7 separate regions of the Homo sapiens genome follow, and all the other regions are linked to region 4. Evidence: promoter capture Hi-C in 16 types of primary human blood cells and fetal thymus (Javierre and others, 2016). All regions are on one chromosome and are shown on one strand. Each heading gives the region's core, a stretch centred on a gene start or on the middle of the fragment in contact. The rest is flanking DNA. Distances are from core to core; before and after follow the strand shown.

Region 1 (2,979 bases), core at 480-2,979, 900 kb after region 4:
CAGGAGAAGGTTTGGGGATGAAACTCTTCCACTTTGCATGTGCAATTCACAATAGGGTTCACACTCCTATGTGAATCTAATGCCACTGCTGAACTGACAGGAGGCGGAGCCCACCACTTAACCTCCTGCTGTGCTGCCCAGCCCGGTTTGGTTCCTAACAGGCCACAGAGTAGCACTGGGTTGGGGACCCTTGCTTTAGACAGTATTTCCCGAGGGGTACTTAAAGATTAAAAATAGTTCTGATAAAAACCAATAGAAGACTAATTTTAATCTTTTAGATTTTTTCTTTTAGATCTTAATAGATATGCAAGGCAGAACTCTTAAGGGACAAGATAGAAAAGATTACAGAGTTAAATGGTAGTGTGATTATGTGAAAAATAAAATGTGTACACTTTTTCCGGCTGTTTTGTTGTTTTGTTTAGCATTAATTTTATTTTTTTTTAATTTTGTTGCATGAAACTTAGAGTTCAGTGTGAAATATGATCATGGTCTATTGATTTAATTTGTATCTATTTCATCTCCATCTAGGAAGGATGAATATGAATAATCAGAATTTAAATGTTAATAACAAAAACTGTTTAAAATTATTTAAAATAAAGGTATCTTTTTACAGTATTGAATGTAAAATACTTAACTATTGACTAGGCATAAAGCAGATTAGATAATCTGAAGACCCTTACTTTAAACAGGATCTGCTAGATAAACTTACAAATGTGTTTTCTGAATTCTGTAACTCAGCTTGCACAGGAAAGTAAGGGAAATATCCAGGGAACAAAAAAGTAGAGGGAACTAAAGGCCTGATGTACCAAAAGCTGAAACTTGGGGTGTTCTTGGTGGTGATAGTAGAGATTTTAGCCTGCATAATTTAAGGAATTGCCATCTGGTGTCTACATGGTGTAGGCCCTTGGTCCTAGTCCCTCAGTAGGCCATGCTTTCAAAAAGAATATTTTAGAAAAGTCTACCTTGATACAGGGAAAGTCAAGGAAGCTTAACTCTTATACCTTGGGCCGTCAGGGGCTTGGGAAGTCTCCCTTCAGGATTCATAATTGTGGTCCTTAGGTGAGTTGGGTTTAAATTTAAACTATCCATGTAGTTTGGTAACTCCCAAGCCCAGATGTTACCATTTTAGAAAAATCTCAGAAGAAAGGCCAAAATCTCTCTTGAGGGGTATATTCTCAATCCAGGTCACATAGGTTTCTCACAGACAAAACCGTAAGACACATGAAGCTGTCAGGTAAGCAAGAACCACTGGACACAACTAATAGCAGGATTAGATTTTCAACAACTTCAGTTAAGATATGTGATAGTCTACAAAATTAAAAGTTATTTAAGACATAGAAGAAGGAATAAGAATATAAAAGCAGCCGGCCGTGGTGGCTCACGCCTGTAATTCCAGCACTTTGGGAGGCCAAGGCGGGCGGATTGCCTGAGTGCAGGAGTTCGCGACCAGCCTGAGCAACACGGTAAAACCCTATCTCTACTGAAATGCAAAAAATTAGCCAGCTGTAGTGGTGTGTGCCTGTAGTCCCAGCTACTTGAGAGGCTGAGGCAGGAGAATTGCTTGAACCTGGGAGGTGGAGGTTGCAGTGAGTCGAGATCGCGCCACTGCACTCCAGCCTGGGTGACAGAGTGAGACTCCATCTCAGAAAAAACAAAACAAAACGAGAACATAAGAGCAAGATGCTATTGTATTATGGAAAAACAATAAACAGATTTTATAAAGAACTTAAAGTAACTTGGAAATGAGAAATATAATCATTGAAATTAAATACTAAGTGGATAGGTTAAACACATTAGTCATAGCTAAAAAGAGAATTAGTGAACTGAAAAGGAAATCCAAAGAAATTACAGAGTAAAGCACAAAAACACAGGCAAAAGAGAAGTTGAAAATGAGAACATCCAGAATATTTCTATTCAGAGTTTCAAGAAGGAGAGAATGGGAGAGTGGAAATACATTGAGGTAATGACTAAAGAAATTTTCAGAGTTATATAAAAGCTATAGACCCTCAGATTCAGAAGGCACGGGGAGCCTTGAGCAGGGATAAGTAAAAGTAAATCCCCACTGGACATATTGTCATGAAACTGGAAAATGTCTTAAGACAGAGAGATTACCTTAAAAGTAGCCAGAGAGAATAAGACTGATCACATATGAAACAATTAGACTGTTAGTAGACTTCTTCATAGTAATAATAGAGGCTAAAAGACAGTATTATCACAGTTGCAAACAGTAAAGAAAAATAACTAGAAAAGTAGCATCCTATACTCCACTAAATTTCACGAATGAGGAGAAGTAAAAATACTTTGAAAGACTGAGAATTTACCACTCATGGACCCTTGTTAAAATAATTTTTAACAGTGGTCTTCATCAAGAAGGAAATTTAGTCCAGAAGGTGGTGAAAGATGCAAGAAGCAATGTGAGCAGATAAACTGTTGCTTGGTCAGTAGGCTATGCTTTCAAAAACTATTTTAGAAAAGCTTTTCCATTGATACAGAAAAAGTCAAGGAAGCTTAACTCTTAAACCTTGGGCTGTCAGGGGATTGGGAAGCACCAATGAAATTTATGTGTACGTTTTAATGAGCATTGATTGTTACAAAATTAATAGTCTTAGGGAATAAAAACAATTTGGGACAAAAATACTGGGCAATAATATGTAAGAAAGGAAGGGATGATAGGAATAAAAATATTTTAAGGACTTATTTGGGAGGAACATTGTAATTACCTTTAGATTTTTTTAATTGCATACTACATATGCAGAAGTATGCATGGTGTACATGTAAGAGTTATAATTGAAAAATTAGACATTGTCAGGAAAGGAGAAAAAAAGAAAACAAGGGTACCTGTTCAGTTCAGTAGAAAGTGGTGGCGGAATAAAAGAGGTAGAAAGCTCAATAGATAGAACAGAATACTAATCACAGTACACAGAAATTGACTACATATATCGGTTAAAATAATCTCTTAATGGAATTTTAAAAAAAATC
Region 2 (2,925 bases), core at 333-2,832, 780 kb after region 4:
AGAACTGTGAGACAAATTTCTGTTGTTTAAGCTGCTCCGTTTGTGATACTTTCTTATAGCAACCTTAGCAAACTCAAACAACCCCATTACTTTACATTAGTTTTAAGCTTAATGTTTTTAGATTTCAGAATAAAGCATGGAAAATGGTACACTGAGGGCAATACGGCAAATGCCAGGGATGAAGATATTATCTACCCCAAGTTTTATTACCAGCCATAAAATGCATTATCTTTGTTGAGAAACTTACTGACAACTTGGCTTAGTTATACATTTATACTATTTTATGGGCTCACCAGGTTGGCAAGTGTCCTTAACCAGTATTTTTGTCATTCCAACATTCCTCTGGGAGGCAATGTTTATACTTGTAAATCATTTATTAACTAGTGACTTCTGCATTGTTGTCTTTGGTGTCTTCTAATGTTTTATACGCTTGCTAACTAGATCACAAACTCGTTGAGTATCCTTGAATATCATACATTATTATTAAGCTTTCTGGGGATTATGGGCCTTCATATCCTGTAAAATGCATGGTTCTTATTGCAGAATGGCCCCTGTATTAGTTCTCCAGAGAAACAGAACCAATATACAAATGTAGGCTTGAGGGGAGGATTTTAAGGAATTGGCACAAGTGGCTGTAGAGGCTGACAAGTCCCAAACCTGTGGTACTTTCTTAGAGCAGCCTTAGCAAACTAATACAATCTTATTACTTTAACATTAGTTTTAAGCTTCATGTTTTAGAATTCAAAATAAGGCATGTATTTGAGACAACAGGCTGGGAAGAGTTGATGTTACAGTTCAAGCCCAGAGGAATTCCTTCTTCTTTGGGAAAGGTTAGCCTTTTTTTATTAAGGCCTTCAACTGGGCTGGGCATGGTGGCTCATGTCTGTAATCCCAGCACTTTGGGAGGCCAAGACGGAAGGATTGCTTGAGCTCAGGAATTCGAGACCAGCCTGGCAATATAGGCAGCCTGTGTCAAAAAAAAAAAAAAAAAAAAAAATTAGCCAGTGCCAATAGTCTCAACTACTCGGGAAGCCTGGGCGATTGAAGCTGTGATGAGATGATTGTACCACTGCACTCCAGCCTGGGTGACTGAGTGAAAACTGTGGAAAAATAAAAAAATTAAAAAAAAGGCCTTCAACTGATTGTATAATGATATGGTTTAGATGTGTGACCCCTTCAAATCTCATGTTGAAATGTGATCCCCCATGTTGGAGGTGAGCCTATACGGAGGTATTGGATCAGGGGGCAGATCCCTCATGAATGGCTTAGCACAACCCCCTTGGTGATAGTGAGTTCTCTGAGTGCGTGAGATCTTGTTTCGGAGGGTATCACCTCTCCTGCTGTCACTCTAGCTCCTGCTAGCTCCATGTGACATGCTGGCTCCCTGTCGTCTTCTGTCATGATTGTGAGCTTCCTGAGGCTCTCACCGGAAGCTGAGCAGATGTTGGCACCGTGCTTCTTGTACAGCCTGCAGAACCATGAGTCAATTAAACCTCTTTTCTTTATCAGTTACCCAACCTCAGGTATTCCTTTATAGCAACACAAAAATGGCCCAATACAGATGAGGCCCACCCACATTACCAAGGGTAATTCACTTTACTCAAAGTCTACTGGCTTAAGGCTGGGCAAGAGTAGCTCACACCTGTAAACCCAACACTTTGAGAGGCCGAGGCAGGTGGATCACATGAGGCCAAGAGTTCGAAGCCAGCCTGGCCAACGTGGCAAAACCCTGTCTCTACTAAAAAATACAAAAATTGCTGGGCATGGTGGTGCATGCCTGTAGTCCCAGCTAATCAGATAGCTGAGGCATTAGAATCACTTGAGCTGGGGGCGGAGTTTGCGGTGAGCCGAGATCATGCCACTGCACTCCAGCCTGGGCAATAGAGCGAGAGTCTGTCAAAAAATAAAAAAAATCAAAATCCAAAAAGTCTACTCACTTAAATGTTAAGTGTTAATTCTCATCTATAAAATACTTTCATCTTCATCTCTGATCTAGGAGGACATTCAAGACCCAGGCTCCTTTTGTTTGATCGTTCTACCATTTTTTGAGATGTCCATGTCGGCATTCAAGACTATAGAAGGGGAAAATAGAGTGGCTGGAATTTCTAATGTGATGTGTAATTTCTACTGTGATCTGGAAATCTGGAAGGTGCAATCATCCTTTCTGCCTATTTTCCAATAGCCTAAACTTAGTCATATAACTACACTTTGCTTCAAGGGAGGCTGGAAATAATCGTGACTTGCTTGCAGGCCATTAGCTCCCCTGAAATTAAAGTTCTTTTTTTTTTTTTTAAAGAAGGAAAGGATAGATCGTAGGTTATTTGGTAGTCTCTTCCAAAACACTCAGGCAAATTAATAACATCCAAAATTTGAAAATCTTGAACAAATGAGATGATCAGGGGAATCATCAGTGGAAAATAAGGAATTTTATAAATGAGGTAAAGCTTCAGCTCAGCATTAGGATTTTAATTCAGTTTATTAGAACTTCTGTTACCAGGCTATTTGTAAATTAGAGAAAATGTAAGAGACAATGTTAACAAAATTAAATAAAAAATACCTTCACAAAAAATCTGAATAAATTTTGACCAAATATCTGAATACTATGGCCAAGCCAAGTTGACACATAAAATTAATCATCACAGCCTCCAGTGAATCCTGCCATCTTGAATTTGTGCTTTTTGTAGCATGAATCTGGACTGGTCTTGTGATCATTGGTTTTTAAAATTTTTTATGGATACATAATGGTTATGCATGTTTATGGAGTACATATGATATTTCGACACAAGCATGTAATGTGCAATGATCAAATCTAGGTAGTTGAAATATCCATCATCTCAAACATTTATCATCTGTTTGTGTTGGAAACATTCTAAGATGATTCTTCTAGTTATTTTAAAATACATGATAAATTATTGCTAACTATAG
Region 3 (3,285 bases), core at 285-2,784, 830 kb after region 4:
TCCATGTGCGAAAGAAAAGCTGGTGGGCTCCATTCAACTAACTCACACGTTCTGAAGCATAAAGTTGTTATAGCCAGAGGTAAAGCTGTATAGCTGTGTGCCAGAGACAGGTTCAATATTTACTTAGCTGTATGTGGACAGTTTAAATCAGTTACCCAAAGCTTTTCCCAATGAAATTGCTCAGGTTACTAAGTTTTTGCTAGAAGATATAAAAGAAAAACTCTGTAATCCCTTCAATTTGTCCCCTAGTTTCTCCGTGTATTCCTTAATTCTTTTACCTCTAAAGCTATACTGTGCAAGTAACTGATAATACTTAGCTCTGGCGTGCAGCTGTGCATGCGTCTCTCAAGGTTCTTGTGCTGACCTTTGTAAGAAGAGGGGCTTCTTCTGTATGTTCTATTTCCAGAAATCTATTATTCCGGTGAAACAAAAAAAAGTTAGTTTATATACTTGATGGAATGTTTTTTATACACAATGGAATGGGGAATTATGAAGAGTGTTCTTCTCCTTAGTAAGGGACTATTAATGCTATGAATCTCCCAAGGAGAAGCAGATGTTTTCATTCCCCAGTAGCTATAATATAGCCATATTTGGGAAGCCAGTGGAGACTGGTAGAACATACTGGTATAGCTTGCATTATCAAAGCACAGAACCTTGCTTTTTAAAACTTTTTGAGATAACTGTAGTTTTCTCATTTTAATTATAAAAGCTCTCTTATTCAAATTCATTTGGATTATTTCTTTTCTAATTTGTATTACAGAGAGATCTGCCTTCTCAATCAGGAGATACAGGAGAAAAATTTAACTTTTTGATATCTTAAAGTCATAGGATCATTGATGAGCTATGTAAAGCTCAGGTTGCTATACATGTTAAATGATATAGTTTACTTTATTATAGTTATCTTTTCCCTTTCTTGAGGTTAGGCTTTCAGCTATTTTTTCTCATTAGTATCTGACTGTCTCAATGTCTACGTACCTACATTTGTAATTAGTTTTGGTTTGCATTATTTTTTTAAATGGCTGATTAAAATTGCATGATTAAGAGCAAATCGGCTCTGAGTGAAAAATATTATTTTTAAAATCTGAAGACCTATGAATCTTACGATCCTTTTTGCATCTACTTAGTACACTACGTATAAGAAATAACATAAAATTTTTGTTTTATTTTTAAATGTGTATTTTGTTTTTATTTTATTTCTATAAAAGCAATACACAGGCATTGCATAAAGCATGAAAGTATGCACCAAACAAAAATATACTGATATGGAAAAATGTTTATGAAAAAGTAAAATGGCAATTCAAGCATAATGCTATTATGTTAGCAAACCCCTGTATGTTTGTGTAAGAGACATAGATAGTATTTTTAAGCATGTAAGAAAAAAAGACAGGCTCTCAAGAGGTAGGTATGGTGTGGGGTAGCAGGCAGTATAAAGGAACATATGCTTCTTTATTATGCCTCTATATTCCTTTCATATTTTACAAATAAGAATACATTGCTTTTCTAATTTTAACAACTTAAAAAAATCAGAAAGTACAGATAAGCAAAATGAACTATACATATCCAACCCACCCTGTGACCACCACCACTACCTCACCAGATTTCTAAGATTACATACTCATATGGTACATATTTTCATATATATATACACACGCAAACATGTTGAGAGATATATAGCTATATTACATAAAAATAAGGCTTCCTTTAAAAAATTAACAGGGTATGAGCATCTTTCCATATTTATGAAAATATTTCTGCAACTTTATTTTTAGTGCATCAATTTAGATATACTTAGAGTCCAGTTACACATAAAAATAATGTCATGAATAAGTGAGGCAACTTTTGACAATTTAGATCTAATTCAAACAATTTTGATTTTAGACATCAAGGAAAAGTATAAATAGTTGACTTGTGAACCACATGGGACAGTATGGGTCCACTTAATATGTGGATTGTTTTCAATAAAAAAGTCTGCCCTCCACATTGGCAGGTTCTGCATCCATGAGGAAACGTAGATGGAAAATAACAGTATTTTCAGAGTGCAAAACTGGTATATGCAGGTCAGCTTTCCACATCAGCAGGTTGCACAGGACCAACTGCAGGACTTGAGTATCCATGGCTTTTGGCATCTGCAAGTTGTTCTGAAACCAGTCCCCCTGCAAATACCAAGACATGACTGTATATTTTTCCTTAACTGAATTAGTTAGATAATTATTCTCAAGCCTGTATACTTCAGGTAAACTGCTCAGCAATAAGGGGTTAATGTATTTCGCTTTTAAATATATCATGAGCTTTACAAAAGGAAGATATATCTGGCAACTGTCTGGTTATTTTGACCCATGTAACTCTGTGATGTTGACTTTCATTAACACTTCAGGGATGACTAATTAAAAATATGAGTCTTACCTTGTTTTTCAGACTTTCAAAAAGGATTATCAATATCCCAAATCACTTGACATATTATCCAACGTTGGATGTGCACTGTCTGTTACTGGTCTGGCTCTCACAGTTATATTTCAGATTGTCACCAGGTAAGAGCAGAAGCAGGCTCTTTTCAGAAGAGAAATTGCTATCTTGATATAATTTACTCTGAGAATTCTCATGAGTAGTGTCTTTGAACTAGGCAAGAACTCAGAGAGGTACTTATTTTACAGAGGAGGACATTTAGGCCTGGAAAGGCTAAGAAATACACACAAATAAATACGTAATTACAAATTGTGGCAAGTGCCTTGAAAGAAAATTATATGCCACTTATTTACAAGTTTGTCATGTAAAATTTATGTGGTCCTGCAGCTCATTAATGCTATAATTCCTCAGTGTTGAATAGAACCATGCCTAGCAATTTGTATTTGTTAAGGAAAGAGACATTGCAAACAGCAATTTTTTAAAAAAGTAATTTAAAAAATATATCAAGCTTTCAAATGGTGAAACGTTTTTCAAAAATATAGTTTTCAAATGGTGAAAGTTTTTGAATCCCATACATTAAATTCTAATTTTAAATAATGACCTATAAACAAATACTTCTCTCCACCTTGACCCCTTCATTTGAGGTCCAATTTTGTATCCCATTCATTATTTTTTGTCACATGCTACATTTTTTTAACTGCCTGCGGTCTTTTAGAAGCTTGTTCATTTATTAATTTACTCCGTTTACTGTGTGTTTCCTCTGTCAACTTCACATTTCATGTTTGTTTGGTCTTTCATGACATTGAAATTTTTCAAGCATCCAGGCCAGTTACTTTGAAAAATGTTCCACAATGAAGATTTGTCTGAAATTTTCCTCATGAA
Region 4 (3,207 bases), core at 39-2,538:
AAACGGTCTCGCTGTGGTGTTTTTTTTGTATTTCCCAGATTAATAATCAGACTGAATTCTTTTCATGTTTATTAGCCATAGCAACTCCTCTTCCACACTGGCATTTCTTATCTTTTTCAAAAATCTATTAATCACGAAAATCTCGTCATCTACATTTCTTCACAAAAGCCATATTACTTTTGATCTTTATAGATTATTTTACATTTGCCATATTTATACATAATATCTTCCCTTTTGGGGCATTTAGAGTGTGCGGACAAAGTCTAGGCAGTAATGCATTTATAAAACATCTATGAGTTGGGTGCACACGGGGTAATTTTCCACATATGGCTAATCCTAGCCTCATCAGATTAAGTTTCCCTGTCTTGTCATTTCCGAGGATGTATCCTATTAGAAGTCTAGCCCTTTATTCCTACAAATTGAATTTCCACTACTGTAGGCTAACATCTGAATGGACTCATCTTACTATTCCATGCATAGTACCAGGCACGTTGCGTGCTTTTACTACATTTTGTATAATTTTTACGTCTGTGTTTGATGTCCTGAAAAATACCGTCCACAATTACTTCACAGCTAGCCCCAGCACTTGGCGCCCAGCGGGTTTTCCTAGTCCCTCCCTGCCAAATCACGTTGGGACTGAGACAAGAGGCACTGCGGGTCTCTTACCTATAGTTACGAAGCAATGGACTCCCTTATTACTTCGTTTCCCAAATAGGGGGTGGGACACACAACCGAGGGAGTATGAGGAAAACAACTTGCGGGTCTTCGAGCCACTTGCGTCTTTCTGTGGGCGAGCCTTTCCAGGCCAATTACATTTTCTTTACTCATATTGCATAAATAGCAGAACTACATTTACCACAAAGGCCCGACATTCATGGTCATGGATCCTTGCGCATGTTTTCTAAGAGCAAACTGTACAAACACATAAACTCTGAAACACTGACGCACAAGCGAAAACACACGCACATGTTTGGGTCTTCTCCCGCTGCGCAAGTTCTTTGAAACTGAGCGGAGAAAAATCGTCTTCACATGGTGTCTCACACTTTCGACACAATCTTATCGGGAAACGTAACACGTAAACAAAATTTTTTAAAATGCATTATCAAAAACGATGACAATCCCTTTCGTCTTATGTTCCTTTTTGTCTTTAAGCTTTGGGGGGATTTATGTTGCGTTTCCAAACTGCTTCTGCCTGTCGGCGCCTGTGTGGAAACTGCGACGAGTCTGGGAGCGGCTGCCGGAGAGGCGGGGCAGAGGTGTGACGTCATCGCCGCGGGGCGGAGGCGACAGTGTCTAGCGGGAGCTCCGCGTGTAGCTACGCCGGCCGCCTGGCTTTGAGACAACGTGATTCTCCGCAGCTGGTCGCCTACCCGTGATGTTCTGCCCACGTCGAGACCTGAGCTGAAATGGCAGACGATCTCGGAGACGAGTGGTGGGAGAACCAGCCGACTGGAGCAGGCAGCAGCCCAGGTACCCACTCTGTGCCCGCGCTCCTACGGGGCCTCTCCCGGAGCCCTTCCGTGCGCCTCAGCCCTGGTCGCTTCTGGCGATCGCGGTGTTTGCCCAGCAGGGGTGTGCACCGCCTTGGGAGCGCGCAAGCATCTCGGGGAAAATGGTGCAAGAGATTCTTTAACACGTGAAACAGACAGCTGTGACATTAACTCAGATCTGTCTGCCAGCCAGGAAGGATCCTTTCCACAAGCTTTCTCTTTTCCTTATTTCTTGAGAATGGATAAGACAGTTTTTGTGAAGAGAGGCAACTTTGTATGATGGTTAAGGGTGACCCATGAACTGCTTTCAATTCAGACTGAGGTCAGAAGCAGGGGTTGCTGCTTCAGACTCCCTCCATTCAAATCACGACTCCAGTATTCTGATACTGTTTAGCCTCCTTTTCCTCATCTGTAAAATAATGATAACAATAATGTCCATTTCGTAAAGTTGTGAAGATTAAGTGAAGTTAGTACAGTAATGCACTTTAGCATAGTGCTTGACATATAATGTGTGGTAAATATAAGTTACTGTATTTCTTGTGGTCATCATCATTATCATGGAATTTGGAATAGTAGAACTGGAAGGAGGCTTAAATAGAGATCATCCTTTGAACTCACTTATTTTACAGATGAGAAACATAACCTAAAGATGTCAAGTAACTTGACAAGTTCACAAAGCTAGCTCCTTTCAGAAACAATACTAGAATTCAGTTAACACAATTTGAATAGTTTCTACTATGCTCTGCTGTGTTTACCAACTCCTGATGCAGTGGGCATTTCATCCCCAAGTAGAGTAGCGTTAAGTGACCCCCCATGTCAGGCTAGCCTTGAACTTTTTAAGTTCCATCACACCTACCATGCAATTATTGGTTGGTTGGTTTTTATCACTCCTCAAGGTCTGCCTCTTTTCTCTACAAGAGAAGACAGGGCCAAAGTCAGATTCATACTTCTGTCATCCACAGGGCCCTGCACATGTTAGACACTTGATACCTATTTGCTGCAAACAATCTTGAAATACTAGTTGTGAAATATCCATTAAAAATAACCAACTTCATTTGTTGCATTGTTTCCGGAAGGTCAAGCCTTCAGGTACAAACTAAGCAGATGTCATTTTTAGAAAGGTAGCCAATACAACATTTCCTTGATTAAACTTCCTGACTCTTTTGCAGCCCTGTGGTGTTCCACATTTACTTTAATAACTACCCCTCCCAACTCAGGTGTTAAAAAGCTCTATTTTATGATATGATTGAAGATGAACAGAGGCCATTTAAGAAATAGTTGAATTCTGTTTGAGTGGTGAAGGGGATCCCAATTCTTGGTTCTAGTCCTCACTAGCTGTGTGACTTTCAAGTTATTCATCCGTTGGAAGAAAGGCAGTCAACATGTATTGAGTATCTATTATGTGACAAATGTCTTCATAAATATGAATTGATTTAACTTTCATAACATCCCGAAAAGGTAAGTATTCTCTTCATTTGTATAGGTGAAGAAACAGAAAAAAGTTAAGTCGTGTTCTTAGGAACACACATTGAAGAAGAGGTCTGGGAAGAGTTTAGTCAAGTGTGATTGATTTTGAAAGTCACGCTTTTCCCGCTACTACTTTGTGACTTCTCTGGGCCTTTGTATCATAATCTGTAAAGAGCCCTTAAAGATCATCTTTTTTAGGGTTTTACCAACCAACAGTTTTTTTTTTCTTTTTTTTTTTTTTTGACACGGA
Region 5 (2,900 bases), core at 46-2,545, 920 kb before region 4:
TTCCTTCCACAAAGAGAAAGCCAGACTGAAACAAGAGGGAAGAACTAAGCTGAGTCCTTGGTTCCTGAAGTCTAGCTGCATTCCTGCCTTCCCCTCTCAATCCTCCCAATAGTTTCTCCTTCTACCTTAATCAGATATGGATTTCTGTTCTCTATAACCTCAAAAGTCCTAACTAAAACACTCTTCCTCCATGCATGCAAAAGAATGTCCACCTCACATCCAGACCTATAAAGCTGGCTTTTAGGATGCCAAGAGTAGACAGAAACAAAGGTATATCAGGAAAGAAGAGATAAAATGATCTGAGATGGTGGGGATCAAAAAACACTGAAGCACACCAACAGGCAGAAGGCTGAAGAGGCAGAGCAAAGGTCAAAAAGGAGAGCACAGAACTCACATTAAGATTTGGGTGGGCTGGAGACAGTCATGCCTTTCTGCCACATTCCTCTATTGCATGCTCTGACTCCTCTCACTGAGCTGGGGGTGGAACAATAATTGGGGATAAAGGGAAGAGGGATGGAAAAGTGAGTCTTAGTGGAACGGAAACATATAAAAATGGAAATTTTAACTGCAGAGTAAAATGAAACAAAATTTTCTTTGACATATTGATTCATTCATTGAACAAAAATTTACTTGCTACCCAGATTCAATCCCAGCCCTCGTTACAGTCTAAAAAGAAAGATGAGTTACATATTTTAAAATATTTAGAGTAGTAACTGGATGTCAAGTTCAACAAGGCTATTATTTAAATCCAGGTATGTCCAAGTCCAAAGCCTCCAGATTTTCAAAGACCACTGTAGTAAGAAAAAAAAAAAAAAGAAACCAATAATAAAGATAGGCAAAGCTGCTTGGTTTTTCAAACTAAAACAAAAACCAAAACAAACAAAAATCTGACAGTGTAAATGACAGTTTCAGTAAAGCAGAAACAAAACCCTTGCTTTTTTATTGCAAGGGTTAAAAAATAAATTAACAATTTAACAAATATCTGCTGTGTGCCAGTCACTAAGAAAATATACAGCACAAATGTAGATTACCATTTAGAAAGCTCGTCACTGAAAAAAGCAGAGATACAAGGTACCACAAAGCAATGAAAAAAGAGATATGTAAAAGCCAGTGGCATTTTGAGCATGTTTCCAGATATAAAGTAAAAGTGCCATCAAAGTGTAAAGCATGCCAAAACAAAATTCACATTCCCCAATGTAGCAGTGCTCTGATAAAGAGGAAGAGGACAAGGTTTCAGTCAGGAGGAAGTCATACTGTGCAAGGATTAGGAGCAGGGCAGGAGTTCGGCTGTACAAATCAGCTTTACAAAGTGAGATAGTCTGCTAAGCAGTAATCCCCACTTGGGACTTGATTAGCCAGACCTCATTTGTGGCAGATCTAATCACGATGACCACATGACTTAATCTTGTAACTATGAGCTATCCAGAACCAGAGAAAGCAGAGAATGGGGATTATCACATGGGCCCAAGTTTGGGAACTGTCCAAGATCACGGAAAGAGCATTGTTGAGATGATGGATTTGGGGTGCCTGAGTTGAGAAGAGATAACCAAACCTAGTGACAGACAAATGAACCAGGTGAAAGAGGAAGCACCTGAGGCTAATGTCAGGCCTAACATCGCAGATACAAACTCCTCAGTCTGCCCCTCAATGGGAAGTCCTCCACAATACGTTCCAGCCTCCATTTCTCATTACTTTTCTATTACACCAGATTAGTGAAGCTACCTGAATGCTCCCCAGCAACATCCACTGGCAAGAAAAAGGAGACAGGCAACTACGAGAACAAAAACTAGGGGGACTTTTATAATATTGGAGATGCCTATTGAAGTCAGAAGCTGAAAGCATGCAAAGGAGAAAGTGTGCCCAAATTGCTGGCACTGATTTAGGCTGTCACGGTTGTTAAGGATGACCCATCTGAGGGGAGCAGAGCTTTCTAAGAAGTAGGCATGTCTATTTTCAGAATTTCAGCTTGAAGGATTCCTCTCATAGTCAAGGGTGTGCAGCAAAGGAGTCTTCCTCCTGGGAAGAGGTGGGACTGGGAAAGGCTGGGAAGACTGTTAGGCTCTGAGCAAACAGGTAGTAAGGGTCAAGACATGGCTCTGTTCCCGGCTCCTGAACTGACCACTAATTTACGGGGATTAGGCAAAGGACAACAGCATGAAGTGCATGCCGGTGCCAAGGGATGAACCAAATAATGTGCTCAGGGTAGCAGATTAACTCTAGAAATGGGGTTCTTAATTCACATAATTTGAATGACAGACACTATGATAAGTATTAGAAATAAGAAAATGAATAAAACTCTCTCCGCTGGCAGGAATAAATACTTAGAATACAGTGTGGAATGTATTATCCGGAGATGAGTGTGTGGGGACTGTTCGAGAACTCTTCATAAAGGGATGATACCCAAGAAGGGTTTTGAAGGCTGATCGAGAGTTTACCGAGAAGACAAGGAAAGTAAGAGCATTTCAAGTAGAGGAAACTGCATATATGAAGAGGTTAGTATAGGGAACAAGGCAAAATGGCATGAAATTATATCTTAGAAGAATAAAATTAGCTCAGTCTCATATCTGAACTATACAGTGTGAGAAATGCTGGCATTAGATTAAGTCAGAGTGAAAGGGAGGGACCAGACTGTGAAAAAAATTACTTACATGATACGCAAAGGAGTTTGGACGGTATCTTACAGATGATAAAGGGGCTGCTGGCAACACTATGGAAGTCATTAACACAGCTCCAAGAGGAAAATGCCCCAGCATGTGGTACCATGCCTGGCCCACAGTAACCAACCAACGTTTTTCCAATAACTGGGCAGACACAGGGCATGAGTTCAAGAAGCAAACAGTGGAGCATGACCAGAATGAGTTTTGCTACTCATTCTAAAAGGGTGGGCTTTCACACTCCCA
Region 6 (3,321 bases), core at 390-2,889, 790 kb before region 4:
GTTTCTTAGACCTGGGATGGGGTGCAAGGTTGCAGATTGCAATTTTAAGTGGAGTAGTTAGGGTAGACTTCATTGGAAAGGAGATACTTTAAACAAGGATTTGTGGAAGTGAGTGAGTAAGCTGTGTGAATACTTGAGGGAAGAGTGATTCAGGCAGAGGGAATAGCCAACGCAAAGGCCTTTAGAGCAGTGTATTCGTCAGGGTGTTCTAGAGGGACAGAACTAATAGGATAGGTGTATATATGAAGGGGAGCTTATAAAGGAGTATTGACACATGTTCACAAAGTGAAGTCCCACAATACGCCATCTGCAAGCTGAGGAGCAAGGAAGCCAGCCTGAGTCCAAAAACCTCAAATGTAGGGAGGCTGATAGTGCAGCCTTCAGTCTGCAGCCAAAGGCCTGAGAGCCCTTGGCACTGGTATAGGCCCAAGAGCCCAAAAGCTGAAGATGTTGGAGTCCGATGTTTGAGGGCAGGAAGCATCCAGCATGGGAGAAAGATGGAGACAAGAAGACTCAGCAAGTCAACTCTTTCCACCCTTTTATGCCTGCTTTATTCTAGCTGTGCTGGCAGCTGATTAGATGGTACCCACCCAGACCGAGGATGGCTCTGCCTCTCCCAGTCCAGTGACTCAGATGTTAATCTCCTTTGGCAATACCCTAATAGACACACACAGGATCAACACTTTGCATCCTTCAATCCAATCAAGTTGACACTCAATATTAACCATCACAAGAAGGTATAAGAAAACTATAGCCTGTGGGCTATATCTGGCCTGTCAACTGTTTTTATCAGTAAAGGTTTATTGTCACACAGCTATGCACATTTGTTTCCCTTTGTGTATGGCTTCTTTTATGCTAAATCAGCAGAGTTGAATAGTTGCAATAGAAACATATTCACAATAGCCAAGATGTGGAAACAACCTAAGTGTCTGTCATGGATCAATGGATAAAAACAACTGTGGTATATATATATATAATGGAATATTATTCAACCTCAAAAAAAACGAGATCCTGCCATCTGTGACCACATGGATGAACCAGGAGGACATTATGCTAAGTGAAATAAGACACGAACAGAAAGACAAATACTACATGATTTCACTTACATGTGGAATCTAAAAAAAAATCAAATTCTTAGAAGCAGAGAGTAGATGATAGTTACCAGGGGCAGGAGTGGGGTGGGGCTGTGTGTTGTTGGGGAGGTGGGGAAATGAGACGACATCGGTTAAAAGGTACAATGTTTCAGTTATGTAGGATGAATAAATTCTAGAGATCCAATGTACAGCATTGGGACTATAGTTAATAATACTGTACTGTATACTTGAAATTTACTAAGAGAGTAGATCTTCAGTGTTCTCACCACAAATGCAGAAAGGTAAATAGGTGGAGATGGATATGTTAATTAGCTTGACAGTAGTAATTAGTGCACTAAGTATATGTATATCAAAACACCATGTTGTACACCTTAAATATATACAGTTTTTATTAAGTAAAATAAAGATGCTTAACTTTCCAAAATGAAAGGATAAAAGGGAAAGGAGAAAGAAGCTTATGGCCTTCAAGGCCTAAAGTATTTACTATCTGAAAAACATTAAAAAATATTTGCCAACTGCTGCTCTAGAGGCCAGTGCTGGAGTGGAATGAAAAAAATAACAAATTCCTACTTTTACTAATTTGTGAGGAAATAACTTTTTTAAAAAAATTATTTATTAATTGGTTCTTATGATGATGAAAGCTTTTCAGCTTATTCAGACTATATCTAGAAAATTACATTATTAATACACAGGTTCATTCTTTAAACAGACAAAATAAGACATTCAACTGTTTTTAATCATCTTTATTTTTTCTAATAGTGACAATTATGCTTTTTTTTTTTTTTACGTTTTGGTTATTAACAAAAGTTTTTCGCATTCAAAGAACATTAAAAAACAAATGGTGAACAGAGTGTGATACCAGACTATGTCCAACAGGTGGCTGTATTTCTCAAAGTTTCAAAACCAGCCCAATTGCCTGTTGCATGCAAATTTCCATCTCAGTTTTCAGCTACCACACATTAATTCTGTGATTCCAGGATAATTAATTCTATAACAGAGGATTAAACAGTGGGGGTGGAAAGTGATAAGTAATCACATAACCAGAGATTATTTTATTGACTTTATTCAGATCAGTACTTCTATTCCTCATTCAACAGATTCAAAATCAATATTTGACCATGTCTTCAGCCTGGTTAGGCCCTCTGTGGTGCCCTCTCAAATTAAATAGGAAGTATATAGTAGAGGTGAGAATTTGTAGTTAAAGATATAGAATAGAGTCCTGTATGTGCCATGTGGTAGCTGAGTGAATTAGGAAGTTATTTGGCCCCTTGCTATGATTTAATCAGTAAAAAGAACTGAATAAGAATTCCTACTGTATCACAAGAGGTTTTCTATAGGATTTTGGGAAAACTCTTTATATCAACATGTTTTATACTAAATATTATTATTTCTATTCACTATCCTTTCTTTCTCTCTCAAATGCTTTTCACATTCTGTTCTACCAGAAATATCAATGGATAGATCTCATCTCACTAACTTTGAATGATCTCTAGATGATTGCATTGGCTTAATTGTTTAAAAGATTTGAAGGCATTCTTATTTCCTGAGCCCTGGCATCTGGACATTTGAAGCCATATCATACCAAATTATTTTCCAAGTATTTTCTCCTGAATATTTCTGTACTTCTGTTTGTCTGCTACAATGTTATTGGCCAACAAGGAATCTGGTTTTACTTAAAATTACTATTTACATTTTTTTGTTCAGGTTAGTGTGTCTTTGTCAGATATTCTCTTTTTAATCCTCATAAAATTATGCTATCCTTAGTCCATTATTTTAATATTGAAAGTTAATGTGCAGAAAATTGAATTCAGCAATTTGTATACTATATATAAGACACTGTGCTAAAAGTTTTAGTATCTACAATTCTAACCTCAGGAAGATTACAACCAAATGTGAAATACAATGAGAAGAGACAAGCCTCTAAGCTACAAGTCAGAAAAATCTACGATTTTCTACTCACTTTGTTACCAGATATCTACTTCTCATATCACTCTCTCTCTGCAGAAAAATTAAGGAGCAGTTAGTGGACTTGAAAAATGTTGGCAGGCTCTCTGTCTACCTCAGATACACACCTGTGCTTCTGGATTTGCCATATCAAGTTGTTTCATTTGACCTGGTCTTTACATGACCCTATAGTCATCAGGATAACAACAGATGTTTAAGGTATCTGTGTGGCTATGTGATAATCCTAGTTCTGTTTTGTCCCCTTTTGTTTTATTTTTATTTG
Region 7 (3,198 bases), core at 338-2,837, 790 kb after region 4:
ATTAATGGGCTGGTATGTAGGTAGTAACGGGCTAGTACATAGGTTTCCAATTTATGATGGTTTTTTTCACTTCTGATTTTTCAACTTCACCATGGTGCAAAAGCAATATGCATTCAGTAGAAACCATGTTTGGGGTACCCATACAACCATTCTGTTTTTCACTTTCACTACAGTATTCAATATATCACATGGGATATTCGCCACTTTATTATAAAATAGGCTTTGTGATAGATGATTTTGCCCAATTTTATGCTATTGTATGTGTTTTGGGCACATTTAAGGTAGGCTAGCCTAAGCAAGGATGTTCAGCAGGTTAGGTGTATATTTAATGCGTTTTGACTTAAGATATTTTTTAACTTAAGGTGGATTTATTGGGATGTAATCTTATTGTAAGTCAAGGAGCACCTGCACTCCATAATAATTAAATATGATGATCTTTTATTTTAGCAGTTATGACTTGCCTTATAGGTGGCTATATCTAGGTATCTCACCCCTGAGAAATTATGAGTTCTTTGAGGACCCTGTTCATGTCTTGTACCAATTCAAACACATTAAAGGCATTTAATATGGATTTGATGAAGCAAGGGAGTGTCCAGAGAAGACCAGAGCATCTGTTCTCTCTACCAAAACAAAACTGTGATTGAGGAGGTGAATGTTCATGTATCTGTTCTTCCCTGTAAGGGTAGAGGGTAGGGAAGGAGAACATGGGAGCCTGGGCAGGAGAGGGTCAGAGCTGCATCTATAGAGAGACACCAGTTTGTAGTTACTCTGATGATGTATTAGTTTCCCAGGGCTGCTCTAATAAAGTACCACAAACTGGGTGGCTTAAACAACATAAATTTGTTGTCTTACAGTTTGGGTGGCTAGAAGTCAAGTCAAGGTGTCAGCAGAGCCAGTTCCTTCTGAGGACTCTCTCTTGTAGATGGCCGTCTTCTCTCTCTGTCTCTTCAGATCATCTTTCTGTATTCATGTCTGTGTTCAGATTTCTTCTTCTTATGAGGACACCAGCCATATTGATTAGTGACCACCCTAACAAACTCGTTTTAACTCGATCACCTCTGCAGTAACCACATCTCCATGTGAGGCCTCATTCTGAGGTACCGAAGGTTAGGACTCCAACATATGAATGTTGGAGGGGACACAATTCAGCCCATAGCAGGTGGGTTATCATGCTGGGCTTTAGTGCTTGTCAAGACCCAGCCTGTGCCAGTATGCACACTCACCAACTGCATCTGTCAAAATGTAGGCTCCTTAAAGAAATGCAAGCGCTAAAAACCATGTGTGGTGATTGCCATTTATCCTCTTATTGACAACCTAGTTCATTTCCCCGAGAGAGTGTTTTGTGTGGTCTGAAGCACCTGCCAGTCTATCTCTGCTGTACCCTCCCAAGACAAAAATACAGGAAGCCGAGCCATAGGTGACTACTGGCAACCACTGCCTTTGTGATTTCCTCTTTGGTTTCTTCTATTTTGTTCCCTTCCTTCACTCTGTGGCTTGTCTGGGCATTCACTCTTTGACCCTTGTGGCTAGTCCCTCCCCTTCTTCTTTATTGCCCTGAGTTATCTCCCTATTCCCATAACTCTAATCACTTTTTTCATGTTCTCCTTGAGTGAAGGATGAGGAAATTGAAAGCAGAGTATGCACCTTTTATTAGGAGATTCAAACTGCATCCTACTGGATTAGCCTCAAAAGTCCTAAAATACAAAGACATCCATCTGACAGATCACTGAGGGGAGGACTTGTTTTTCTGTTTTAGAATAGTTTCCGATTAAACTTTTTAGCTCAAGAAGAAAAGAAGCTAGTTATTTCTCACCCAGGAGTGGATTTGTGGTTTGGCTTCACCATGGCTTCCTGCCGTGCCTGGAACCTTAGGGTGCTGGTGGCTGTCGTGTGTGGACTACTGACTGGCATCATTTTGGGACTGGGCATCTGGAGGATTGTGATCAGGATCCAAAGAGGTAATGTTGTCCTGCTATGTTTAACTCAGAGTAAGAGAAGGTATGGGACCTCTGTCCCTGCCACCTGGTGCACAAGTACTGGGAGGTACCTTGTCCAGTCTGAGGCATTCCACCAAGGTGCCATTTATGGGATATAAAAGACCAAGTCAGTTAAGCCTAGCAGATGGTTGAATAGAAATGAATAGGTGTGGGTGTGAGTGGGCAGGGGGAAGAGTGACATAATTGAATTGGCCTCTTTATGCTCTTTTAACTCCAGACTGAATTGGTAGAAGAGTAATAATTAAAACGATTAGTAACACACATTTAGGTCTGTTTGGCTAAATTCAGGAAAGGGTAAATCGTTATGAACAAGGACACACACATGCATCAAACACATACACACACATGCATAACACACATACAATCAAACATACACAGAATGGAATTTCATTTTAAGAGAGAAGTTAAAGAAACTCATCACTAAGGTTTAAGTGAAATGATCTCATGGTTTGCATACAAATTTCCCACTTTCCAGATGTAGGAAACTAATCAAAAATTTAAAAACCATTTTTAAATGACTTTCCTGATTATTCAACGAACATTTGTTAGTCCCCCGCTGTGTGCCAGAGCTGGCCTGGAAAAGGAGGACGTGGGAGGGGAAGTAGTGAGTAAAACAATGATGTTAAAGAAAAGCCCGCTGGAACTCAGAACGCGAAATTTCAATGATCCTAATGCTGGATCCCTTGGGCTGTAGAGCTTCTCCGTAAAGGAATTCAATGTTGGATGGGCTACATACTCCCTTTCGTGAAAATCAGAGAAAGCTTCTAATGAAACAATAAATAAGGGTAAATAATGCCGATCGGGAAAGGCAGCAGGAGAGGCAGTATGCCCTCTGAGCAGGTAACTGGGGAGGACAGAAGGTTGGGGAGCTAGCAGGAGCATGGAGCATGGCTGCAAAGATCCAGTGTTGAAGACCAACAGAGGGATCTGACATACTGGCTGCTGATGGAGTGGTAGCTGGGGATGGATTTGTCCTCCCCCTACCCCACCGCCCTAACCAGTATTTAGAGAATACTGTATCGATAGTATTTAGAGAACTAGAATGAGAAAATTTACCAGAACAAAAATAGTAAAATTTAAACTTGGAGCAAATGTGTTTTTGTTTGTTTAAGGTTGTAAAATAGTTTCATTCAGGTTAAAAAATTATGAACTATGGATTTTACCCCATTAAGGCTGCCAAATTTATAAGACCTCATTTAAA

The links. Contacts are between HindIII fragments. The CHiCAGO score rates a contact against its expected background, and 5 or more counts as called.
Region 1: a fragment that was not itself captured here is called in contact with the fragment with the promoter of CMSS1 in region 4 in 4 of 17 cell types (fetal thymus, naive CD8 T cells, total B cells and 1 more); the score reaches 5.6 in fetal thymus.
Region 2: a contact is called between a fragment that was not itself captured here and the fragment with the promoter of CMSS1 in region 4, in 7 of 17 cell types (total B cells, fetal thymus, naive B cells and 4 more). The highest score is 17.1, in total B cells.
Region 3: a fragment that was not itself captured here is called in contact with the fragment with the promoter of CMSS1 in region 4 in 1 of 17 cell types (total B cells); the score reaches 5.6 in total B cells.
Region 5: a fragment that was not itself captured here is called in contact with the fragment with the promoter of CMSS1 in region 4 in 1 of 17 cell types (non-activated CD4 T cells); the score reaches 5.3 in non-activated CD4 T cells.
Region 6: a contact is called between a fragment that was not itself captured here and the fragment with the promoter of CMSS1 in region 4, in 1 of 17 cell types (endothelial precursors). The highest score is 6.1, in endothelial precursors.
Region 7: a contact is called between the fragment with the promoter of ADGRG7 here and the fragment with the promoter of CMSS1 in region 4, in 2 of 17 cell types (total B cells and naive B cells). The highest score is 11.4, in total B cells.

What each region holds. Positions count from the first base shown.
Region 1 is chr3:100,720,507-100,723,485 of GRCh38, forward strand. The region is part of intron 3 of TFG (trafficking from ER to golgi regulator); the gene reads left to right. Among named protein-coding and RNA genes, the nearest start is that of TFG, 13 kb to the left of the region's middle. The HindIII fragment of the contact is 1,488 bases long and covers 986-2,473 here.
Region 2 is chr3:100,591,300-100,594,224 of GRCh38, forward strand. No RefSeq gene overlaps it. Among named protein-coding and RNA genes, the nearest start is that of ADGRG7, 17 kb to the right of the region's middle. The HindIII fragment of the contact is 1,719 bases long and covers 724-2,442 here.
Region 3 is chr3:100,647,280-100,650,564 of GRCh38, forward strand. It overlaps ADGRG7 (adhesion G protein-coupled receptor G7), which reads left to right. Exons shown (of 16, transcript NM_032787.3): 11 at 2,416-2,528. Among named protein-coding and RNA genes, the nearest start is that of ADGRG7, 39 kb to the left of the region's middle. The HindIII fragment of the contact is 2,750 bases long and covers 160-2,909 here.
Region 4 is chr3:99,816,574-99,819,780 of GRCh38, forward strand. It overlaps CMSS1 (cms1 ribosomal small subunit homolog), which reads left to right and starts at 1,289. Exons shown (of 10, transcript NM_032359.4): 1 at 1,289-1,470. The coding sequence starts at 1,407. HP09053 (a long non-coding RNA gene) reads right to left here. Exons shown (of 3, transcript NR_110821.1): 2 at 2,347-2,401; 3 at 59-1,899. LOC105374010 (a long non-coding RNA gene) reads left to right here and starts at 1,289. Exons shown (of 5, transcript NR_189163.1): 1 at 1,289-1,470. RefSeq lists a silencer at 970-1,724 and enhancers at 1,140-2,014, 1,246-1,555. The HindIII fragment of the contact is 550 bases long and covers 1,151-1,700 here.
Region 5 is chr3:98,892,582-98,895,481 of GRCh38, forward strand. The region is part of intron 1 of DCBLD2 (discoidin, CUB and LCCL domain containing 2); the gene reads right to left. Among named protein-coding and RNA genes, the nearest start is that of DCBLD2, 7.7 kb to the right of the region's middle. The HindIII fragment of the contact is 3,386 bases long and covers 1-2,900 here.
Region 6 is chr3:99,021,812-99,025,132 of GRCh38, forward strand. No RefSeq gene overlaps it. Among named protein-coding and RNA genes, the nearest start is that of LINC00973, 110 kb to the left of the region's middle. The HindIII fragment of the contact is 187 bases long and covers 1,547-1,733 here.
Region 7 is chr3:100,608,014-100,611,211 of GRCh38, forward strand. It overlaps ADGRG7 (adhesion G protein-coupled receptor G7), which reads left to right and starts at 1,588. Exons shown (of 16, transcript NM_032787.3): 1 at 1,588-1,958. The coding sequence starts at 1,844. The HindIII fragment of the contact is 7,171 bases long and covers 1-2,756 here.